2 separate regions of the Homo sapiens genome follow, and region 1 is linked to region 2. Evidence: promoter capture Hi-C in human tissues and cell types (Jung and others, 2019). All regions are on one chromosome and are shown on one strand. Each heading gives the region's core, a stretch centred on a gene start or on the middle of the fragment in contact. The rest is flanking DNA. Distances are from core to core; before and after follow the strand shown. Region 1 overlaps DDX11-AS1 (DDX11 antisense RNA 1). Region 2 holds the start of TSPAN11 (tetraspanin 11).

Evidence for each region. The method cuts DNA at HindIII sites, captures the fragments that hold promoters and counts their contacts. A contact is called where the count stands out against the background at its distance.
Region 1: a fragment that was not itself captured here is called in contact with the fragment with the promoter of TSPAN11 in region 2 in 2 of the 25 tissues and cell types used here (H1 embryonic stem cells and mesenchymal stem cells).

The regions. Positions count from the first base shown.
Region 1 is chr12:31,057,234-31,062,137 of GRCh38, reverse strand. DDX11-AS1 (DDX11 antisense RNA 1) reads left to right here. Exons shown (of 3, transcript NR_038927.2): 2 at 1,368-1,478. Among named protein-coding and RNA genes, the nearest start is that of DDX11-AS1, 14 kb to the left of the region's middle. The HindIII fragment of the contact is 4,210 bases long and covers 316-4,525 here.
Region 2 is chr12:30,924,010-30,929,107 of GRCh38, reverse strand. TSPAN11 (tetraspanin 11) reads right to left here and starts at 2,360. Exons shown (of 8, transcript NM_001370302.1): 1 at 2,312-2,360. LOC124902911 (a long non-coding RNA gene) reads left to right here and starts at 2,419. Exons shown (of 2, transcript XR_007063264.1): 1 at 2,419-5,098. The HindIII fragment of the contact is 5,500 bases long and covers 1-5,098 here.

The sequences.
Region 1 (4,904 bases), core at 1,171-3,670, 130 kb before region 2:
CATTGCTACAGTATCAACCAATAAGCCAGTCATTTTGTTCCCCACTGTCGCTTGTACCCAGGGCTCCTGTAGGGAAATTACTGTTGCTCTGTTAAATCAGGCGGAGTCCCTGTGCCCCATCAGTCTTCATCAGAGTCACAATCCTGCTCCACCATCTCCTTCTTTGGCGTATATTTCCCTTTTCCTCTCCCTTGTCTTTTTTATTACCATCTTTTCTCTGTAGCTTAGGGGGGCATACTTCTCATGTCCAGATTTCCCCACTGTAGGCACACTGGTCCTTGTCTAGGGATTCCTTTCTATTTCACCCCTCATTCTTCCACCTTTTTGAACAGTCTCCATGAAAATGGTTGCCTGTCTAGCTTTTCTTGTTTCTCTAGCATTGAAGTCTTTGTAAGCAATATCTGTAAACTGGGAAGGGTTCATTCCAACAGTCCCTTCCTGCTTTTCTAATTTTCTGTTAATGTCAGAAGCACTTTGGCTGATGAAAGTTATATTTATGACCCAAACATGTTCCAGAGCCTCTGGATCAATATCTGAATATTTTCTGTAAGCCTGTTACACTTGTTTCAACCAAGCTGCTGGGTTTTCACTGGCCTCCTACCAGAGGTCATGGATGTTTTTTATTGAGGCTTTGCTGCTTAGGTACTCCCTTTCTTAGGAGTAATCCTACAGTCAAGATATAACCTCATTATTAAGGTTTCATTTGCGTTTCACTAAGGAAATTGCCTCTGGGATGTTGGAGGACCCAGCAGGGTCTTCCTGGTATAGCCTTCTGGCTCCATCATTAGTCTTGTCTAAAAATAACCCCCTTTCATCATAAAATTTAATAATGCTTGTACACCTGCTATTGTGGAATGATGAATAGAAAAAATACTGGTGAATATTTCAGTCATCTCCTATGGATCATCCCTATAGGATGGACTTGAATATTTTTCCATTTACTTAGTCAAAGATAGAAAATGGTGAATAACCAAAATAGCCCAGGAGTATGGCCCTGTGCATTTAATCCTCCAGCGGGGAATTTGCATAACAGAAATTGTTCTGCCGCATGAGGGTGTACGCTGTGGTCAAATTTAGTTGCCTTGTCAGGTCTTAAAAGGGGAGCCTATTTCTTGGCTACCTTTAAAATGAGGAGGGGCCACCACACCCTGTAAGTCTGTATTATCTGGATAATCCTCTGGTGGAGGGGGCAGAGATGGGGCAACTCAGGGTACTGTGCTGGTACTGCAGCTGGGGCCTCCATGGGAGCCTGCACAGGTGCCAGAGCAGGCTGCAATGGGACAGGCACCTGCAAAGCCTCAGCATCATTTGCCTGTGGAGGGTTTATAGTTGACAAGATTATCCTATCTCCTTCTTTTCCTCCTCAGGTAATGGAGAGTGAGGAGATTTTACCTGATATGGTCCTGTTTGCACCATCAGCCAGCAACCTTTCTGGGAAGCGTGCTTATTATGTACCAACATAAAAGCTTGAATATAAGGTATGCAGTCCCAATTTCCTGATCTCAGATTGAAATGTTCAAGCTGTATAACATTAAATTCAAAGAACCATGTAATGGCCACCTATCTTCCTCATGTATCACGTACATTGACCACACCTTATTGCAGTAGATTATCTTTTTTGTCGTAGGGTTATCACTGTAGGCTTACCAGTCAGCCAATATGAACCACAGTGGGCTCTGAGAGGGGACTGATGAAAAAAACTTCCCATGGTGGACACAAACAAAACACAACCAAAACAAATGAAGCACTTTTCCAACCCAGGCTTTCACAAAGGAAGAGACTGGTATGGAGTCACTATGAGTCATTTCTTCTACCAGTGGTACCACAAATGGTCCAAAGGCCCAAATGGTAAAGAAAGTGGACTACTACTTTGCACCCCAGTAGACTTACCTGGTTGTACAGCTCATCAGCTCATCCAAAAAGCTAGTTTCCCAGCACTTTGGGAGGCCAAGGCGGGCGGATCACGAGGTCAGGAGATGGAGACCATCCTGGCTAACAAGGTGAAACCCCGTCTCTACTGAAAATACAAAAATTAGCCGGGCATGGTGGCGGGCGCCTGTAGTCCCAGCTACTCCTAGGATGCTGAGGCAGGAGAATGGCATGAACCCAGGAGGCAGAGCTTGCAGTGAGCCGAGATTGCGCCCCTGCACACCAGCTTGGGTGACAGAGCGAGACTCCATCTCAAAAAAAATTAAAATAAAAAAAATAAAGCTAGTTTCCTTTCACCAACTAAAAGCAAAAGTAGGCAGTCAGTACTGAATGGGGGAAAGGAGGAAGTTTCCCTGAAGTAGAAAGAGTTTTGGCAGCCTCTCTTTGGCAGACTTTGGGGCTGTCTCTGCAGTTCCCTTCTGCCATGAGTAGCCAGTGCCACAGAGCATTTGCCGCTAACCTCTGGTAATGTGAATGAGTTAGCCCTGACCTGCTGCCGCCATCAATTGCTCCACCTCTTGGGAACCAAGAAGTCCTCCCAACAATATGGATGAGTTAGTCCTGGTATGAAGCTGTGACCAATTGCTTTGTCTGTTGGGAGCTGACAGGGTGCAAACAGCCCAGAGCACACGGCTTCTGGCTGGGCTTGCCAAAATTTGTAACCAAACCCAGATCTAGGCCACTTGTTGCTTGAAAGCCAAAAGTCTAGAGACAAATGTTGGTGAAAGGGAAAGTTAGCTACATTCAGGAAGCCAAAAACTCGAGGGAGGCTGTGAACTCATCTTCAAAGACCACCTGTCTGATCCGGGAGGTTTTAAGGGAAATTAGGAGCAGGGCAAACAATGATCGAAGCATTTCACAAAAAGTTTTTGTTACTAAGCCTGACCTAACCTGAAAATAGCCTTAGCTTTTTTTCTCTCTCTCTTTTTAGACACAGGGTCTCACTTTGTCACCCAGGCTGGAGTGCAGTGATGTTATCTTGGCTCAGTGCAGCCTTGACCTCCTGGACTCAAGTGATCCTCCTGAGTAGATAAGATGACAGGCATGCACCACCATACCTAGCTATTATTATTATTTATTATTATTATTATTTTTGTTTGTGTATAGGCAGGGTCTCGCTTTTCTGCACAGGCTGGTTTCATCCTCCTGGCCTCCAGCAATCCTCCTACCTCAGCTTCGTGAAGTGCTAGGAATACCAGTCTGAACCACTGTACCTGGCTGATCAGAGCATTCTTATGAAACATGTGAAGTCTCAGGCAGGCAGGCAGGCAATCACTGTTTTCTTGGTCAATGTTGTATGACCTTCTGCAGGTACCATCAGGCTATTCTTATCAAGCCACTTAGCCCATTCCCAGAGTTGTTTGTCAGTGTTTTTTCTTTTATGTCTGCTGAAGATCCTGTATTTCTGAGGCTGTTTTTAATGAATAATCTACAGTCTCAGGAAAAGCAATAACTGTATTCAAGCAAACAAGCTTTTCTCTAACATGGAGTCAGTACTGTTATAGTTTTTTGTTTTTTTGGTTTTTTTTTTTTTTTTGATTCAGAGTCTCTCTCTGTTGCCCAGGCTGGAGTGCAGTGGCGTGATCTCTGCTCACTGCAAGCTCTGCCTCCTGGGTTCACGCCATTCTTTTACCTCAGCCTCCCGAGTAGCTGGGACTACAGGCACCCGCCATCATGCCCGGCTCATTTTTTTTTTGTATTTTTAGTAGAAACAGGGTTTCACTGTGTTAGCCAGGATGGTCTCGATCTCCTGACCTCGTGATCCGCCTGCCTTGGCCTCCCAGAGTGCTGGGATTACAGGCATGAGCCACTGTGCCTGGCCATGTACTGTTCCAGTTTTATCCAATAGTGCATACAATTTAGAAGCAGTGAAAAACATTCTGATTATGACCGACTTCAAAGATGTAATGTCAGTCCATTCTGGCCAATGTGGAAACAGGTTCTATGGTCTTTCCATATCTTTCAGTGTTCTCAGAACCAAGTTTCAATAGCCTTAATATTTCATTACTTTTGAGAAAAAAGAAAAAGTTGCCCTCTGACTTCATGCCAGAAAAACTGCTAAGGATTTTATATTATCTCCTTAAATCCTCACAGCAATGTTGATAGATTAAGTCAATCCCTCAGGATTGGGTTTGCCTGTGATAGAAAACTCACACTCCCTTGCCCCCTTATGAACAAAGTCTGAAGGTAAACTGTGCAAAATGATGAATAGCTCTGCTAGCATAAGTGATCTAGGTTCTTTCTATCTTTTGGCTCTTCCGCCTTTTAATATATCACTTCCTCCTGATGGTTTAAGATCACTGTTTAGCCCCAGGCATCGTGTTTCATTCTAGTCACGAAGAAGACAGGCAGGATAGAAATGCATGTGCCCTTGCTCTTTAAGAATACTTCTTGAAAGTGCCATATGGGACTCTACCTTCCACTGCTTGGTCAGAACTTAGTTACGTGGCCACACCTAGCTGCAAGGGGGGTGGAAAACATGTTCTCCATTCCAGGTGGCCAAATGCATGGTTTTTTAAAAAGGAAGAAGGGTATTGGAGGACAGTTCCACAGAGGTGTTATAAATACCATTTTGTGGATGAGAAATCAGGTGCAAGGAAATTGAGCTCTGACCTTTGAGGGAGCATAAAGAACTAATCAGGAATACCTGTGTTCTTTTCCAGTGAATTCACAGCTGGAGTCACCTCAGCAGTGGCATCTGGGGTGCCACTGCTGGCATCAGGGGAGTTCCCACAAGGGAGTACCCCAAGCCATCCCAAGATGGGACCAGTTGGAATCCCAAAGAAAGAAGCACTAGACGCCAGGGTGATCAGATCAAAGCATTTATTATGAGAACTTAGGTAGAAACTGGGTTTCACCATTTCCTCCAGATAGGCAGTTAGGGAAAGAGGTGCTCTACCTAGTGAGGTCTGCAGCATGAGGATCAGGGAATGGAGTTGGTGAGAGATTAAGGCATTTGGCTCAGGGCCTGGCCA
Region 2 (5,098 bases), core at 1,111-3,610:
GAGCTGCTGGTGTGAGGGACCTGGCGCCCTGCCAGTGGAGCCTGCTCTTCCCTTCCAGAGCTCCTGGGAGGACAATTTGAAAAACACATATGCACATCCCCTTACTAATTTATTCACTCACTCACTCATTCACAAACAATAATATCTCTTGAGCACCTACTGTGTTGCAGGTGGAGCCAGCAGGCAACGGCACAAAGGCAGTCCCGCTTTTGGTGAGCTCACATTGTAGTAGGATGTGGCAAAGCTAAGTTCAGACAGGTCGCAAGTGCTAGGAAGGAACAATGATGTGATCATGGCTGGGAGGTGGCTACTTTAGATGGGGGATCAGGAAAGGCCTCTCTGAGGAAGCAAAACACAGTTGAAAACAGAATGATAATCTGGAAAGATGCCCTGATTTGGACCAAAGAAGAAGCAGACCCAGAGAGGTGATGTGACCTTCCCCAGGCAGGGAGCTGAGCCGGGACCTGACCTGGGTTGCCGGCATCTCCCATCCAAGGATCTTTCCTTTTACAAACACTACTAAACAGCTATCACATACAAAGAAGTCTCAGTGACAGGTGACATCCGAGGGTGGACAAACCACCCAACTACATCCTGGAATTCGGTGCCGTCTGTGCATGACTTTTGATGCCTCCCTCCTTCTTCAGCCCAGTCCAGCGTTGGCCCTGGGTCTGAAGGCACTGTAACCCAAGAGATAGAACTTGGTGGTGGACACCCCAGGCCTGTGACCTTGGCTGGGAAAGCTTCTTCATCTCCTATCTCCCTGGCTACAAACTGTGAAGGGTGCTCCTTACTGCTTCATTTGGCGGCATAAAAAGAAAAGCAAGTTGGTGGTTATAAATGTCCTGGGCTCATCTGAAGAAAGGCTCTCTGGAAAGTCAAGGTGCTCTAGGCAGACTTAAAGACATCAACGCCAGTTTTCCTCTTGTTCTGCAGCACTCACACAAGAACTATGGGGAATCACACAGGCCTGTACATATTTTACACACGAGTCCAAAGGTGGGTATAAAATTCCTGCTATGCTGAATATAGTGGGAAACAGCACACAAATGCCTCCCTCTGCTACCCACAAACCAAACAGCTCTGGGCCACCTAAGCCCTCGCCAGACCACCAACTTGGCCCCTGTAGGCCAGTAGTGCCCCTTACCCTAGGAGTCTTAACTATCATCAAAGCATTTCCAGGCATTAATTGGAGCCTCCAGTCCCTTGGGAGACAGATGGGGCCAGTGGTTATTAGTCCCATTTTGCACAAAAAGCAACTGAGCCCCAGATGACCTATCTGTCCAGGGAACAATGCTACTGACACAGTGACAACCATTAAGTTCTGATTCAAACCTGTCTCCAGCCTCTAACTGCTGCTTTCCACTGCAATCCAGCTGCCCACAAATTGAACACAGACTATCCACTTTGGCCTAATACCACCCTCATTCTCTTCTTCACGCTCCCCCACACACACCCTATGCCCCAGAGTGCACTTATGAGTTTTTCCAGAAGCTGCCTCTTCTCCTCACCCCCCACCCCCACGCTCACCTCACAATACTTGCCACGAACTGGAGACCTCTGGAACACTTATTCCTCCTGCACACAGCAGCTTAGACTCAAGTTAAGATGCTGTCCCGCCAAGCCCAACTGGGCTGCCTCCCTTTCATACTTTCCACCAATTCACACATGTGCACACTGCACATATGGCTGGTGAAAAGGATACACCCCAGAACCTTCCATGCCTTCTTTCCACACGGAGCCGGCCAACTGCACATGCAGGGATGGGCACGAAAACACAGGTGACAGGGCCTACACAGCCATGTTGTCACAAATACACAGACGTGCCCAGAACATGAGGACATCCCTGCACAGGCAGACAGGCCCTCTGAAAGCAATGTGCACCAGATACAGCATTTTGGTGTAGCCATGAGAGGCAGCTACTCGAATTCAGGGTGGACAAAGAATGACATTTTCAAGAGGAACAGACATGCCCCGGGCACGCTGGACGGCACGAGGCCCTCAGAGGCCCAGAGCTCTCTCCCAAGGCACAAGTGCAGAAAGGCAGACTCATGCGCATAGTTATGGACACCGTGTTGCGTGTCCCATGCAGACACCAATACCTGCTCACATGCCCCGCGAGTGTCCCAGGCATTCCTGCCTCCTCCACTCCTCATCCCCAGCCGGCTTCCCTCTGCCCGCCCGGGGGAAGCTCGGGACAGTCTAGCTCGGGACTGCCGGCGGGGCGGGCAGCGGAGGTGGAGGCGCCTCTCCTGGACCCCCAGCCCCCTCCCGCGGCGCCCCCACTCCTCGGGCGCGCTTCTGCACTTACCCTGCCAGGGGCTCCGGAAGCGGCGAAGGGAGCTGCGCCTAGAGAGACTGAGAGCGGCGGCTCCCGGGGCCGCCCAGCCGCCCACCGCCCGCAGCCAGCGCTCCTCCCTCCCAGCCCGGGAAGGTCAGCGTGTGGGCAGCCCGGCCCGCGCCCCTGCGCCCACTGAGGCTTCCTGCCGGCCCTCTAGTCCCCGCCTGCCCAGCGCTCGGCCGCGACGCCCCGGCGCCGGCTCTCCCAGCCCAGCCGGCAGGACGCGCCCGGGAGCCCCGCACGCGAGCTGCCGGCTCTTTGTTTGGGGGTTTGCCTCTCTGCGATTCAGAGCACGCGGAGGGAATTAAGTCAGAGTCCGAGGCAGCTGTGCGGTTGCCGGGGGGATCCCTAAGGGGGGCGGGGCAAAAGGACGGACTAGTAGGGCGGTGGAGCGGCTTTCAAACTCCCCGCGCTCCGCAGCTCCCCGCTTAGGTCTCCCTGCCCTTTACGTTTGTCGGCCCCTGGGAGAGGTTGGCCTTTGGGGGTTTCCAGGGACCCTAGGGACAAGCCTGTCTGATAAGAGAGAGGTTCTCCATCCCCCTTCCTCACCAGCCCCCATCACTGCCGTGTCCCTCTTAGAGTCCTGTGGAGCATCAGCTTTACATTTCCTGGGCCCCGGGGAGAATCAAGGTCTCTCTAATCTGAAGCAAAAAGGAATAACAGAGAGTAGAGCCCATCTGTTCCTGCTGAGTCCCTGTGAAGGTGCAAAGCTGGCCCTAACGGGACTGGCCCTAACAGTGGGGCATGGATTATCTATTTCCCAAAGTAACAAGGGCCTTGTGCTTATCCAACCGTGTTCTTTTGAAACTTAGCTGCAGTGAGGAAGATTACCCATTTACCAGGTTGCTAGATCAGGGAAGCCACTGGAGGCAGGGGACGCTGACAAAGCCACTGTACCGGGAGCACCAACGTTCTAAATACCCCAGCTGGCTGCTGAGAAGGGCTTCGCGGGGGGCCACACAGGAAGGAGATGATTCCAATAGTCCCGTGAGATGAGGACCTTAACTGGGGGATGAATGCGGAAGCTGCAGCAAAGGAGAGTCTACAGACTGTGTGGTGTAGGAGGAGCACACTGGGGCTGTAACATTGTGGAAGTCTGGAGGAGAACCTGGAGTGATGTGACTGAGTTTAGTGTGGAGCAAGTTGGATTGGAGAAGCAGGCCACCTTCTTCCAGGGGCAGATATCCAGCAAATGCAATTGGAAGGGTGATTCTGGAGTTCATAGGAGAGACTGAGGCAAGGGATGTCAATTTTGGAATCATCTGGAAAGAAGTTGGGCCGACACAAGAGGTGGAGGGAGAGGGTAGAAAAGGTACAGAGAACAGGGCTGAAGACAGAATCTAGGTCTACCGAGAAGGAGCCCATGAAAGGAACGGAAACTATCAGGAGAAACCATAAGGGAAGGTCAGGACTGTGCGGGGTGTCAGGACTCAGGAGAAGAGGGAGGTTCAATGGGGGCCGGGGCCCGGGCTGCAGGGACACCACGGAGGAGGGCGCCCAAGAAAATAGGTTTAGATTTAGAAAGAAGGAGATCTCTGGGCTAGTTCAAGATAACTATTTGAGTGGTGGCTTATATAAACCAGGTTGCCACTCCTTGGGGCGGGGCATCTGTATCTCGGATCCAATTGGTTGATGGGGAGATACAAAGGTTCACCTCTTTGCTTCCATTACGGAGGGCCCTGAAGGGCCACCCCAGCTCCATAGCTTCCCAAGGGATCCGCCGAGGCCTCTGTGGAAAGCAGCACAGTTAAAGTTCATTCTCTGCCGAATCCTGTTTCCCTCACTCTCTCAAGGTGTTGTTCCCAAGAGCACGTCCCAGGAGACCTCCCACATACCATCTCCATCTCTGTGCAGAGTCTGTTTCCTAGAAATCCAACCGGAGGTACAGGGACACTGAGAAAGGGCGCAGGAAACAAAACTTGGCCTCTAACGGAGCAGTTTAAACAGACAGGGATGGTTAGAAAGACTCAGAGAAGGTGGTGTGAAGGAAAGAGCCTGGGGAATGGGGAGCGAAGAGGAAGCTTATTCGTAGTAGAAGATGGATTTTCAAAAGCCGGATGGAAGAGAGAAGAGTGGAGTAGGCCCGAGGAGGGGAGAATGCTGGAAGAGGGTAAGGGTGAGGGGAGGTCAGTATTCACCAAAGTTAATAACATTAAAACAGCAATGAGGAAAGAGAGGGTTGGAAAACGGCCTGGAGTGACTTTCTAGCAGTAGGAGAGGGTGAGTGATGAATGAAGCTCTGGGCTAGGGTAGTCCCTCTCCAGCAGTATCCCCAGTAACATTAAACGTTTACAGTGGAGAACCAATGGAAATATAATATGTAATTAAAAATTTTCCGTGAGCCACGTTTAAAAAAAAAAATCAATATAAAGAAACAGGTGAAAGTAATTGTAATGATATATTTTATTTAACACAGTATATCTAAAATATCATTTCAGCGTGTGTCAATATGAAAAATCAACGATAAGATATTTTACATTTTTTCCTACTAAGTCTTCCAACTCTGGTTATATTTTATGTGTATTGCACATCTACATGCAAACACTACATTTTCATTGGAAATATTCAGTGTGTATTTAGATTTCATAACGTTTTGGTTGAGGAAATAGATTTACAAGCCTACGTTGTTATATACATACTTAGCTTTCCAACAATAAAATCAAATGATCAGTTTTTAAATTTGTTTATATTAATTAAAATTAAATGAAATAATCCAGCCCTTCAGTTGCATGTGGCACATCTCAAGTGCTCAGTAGC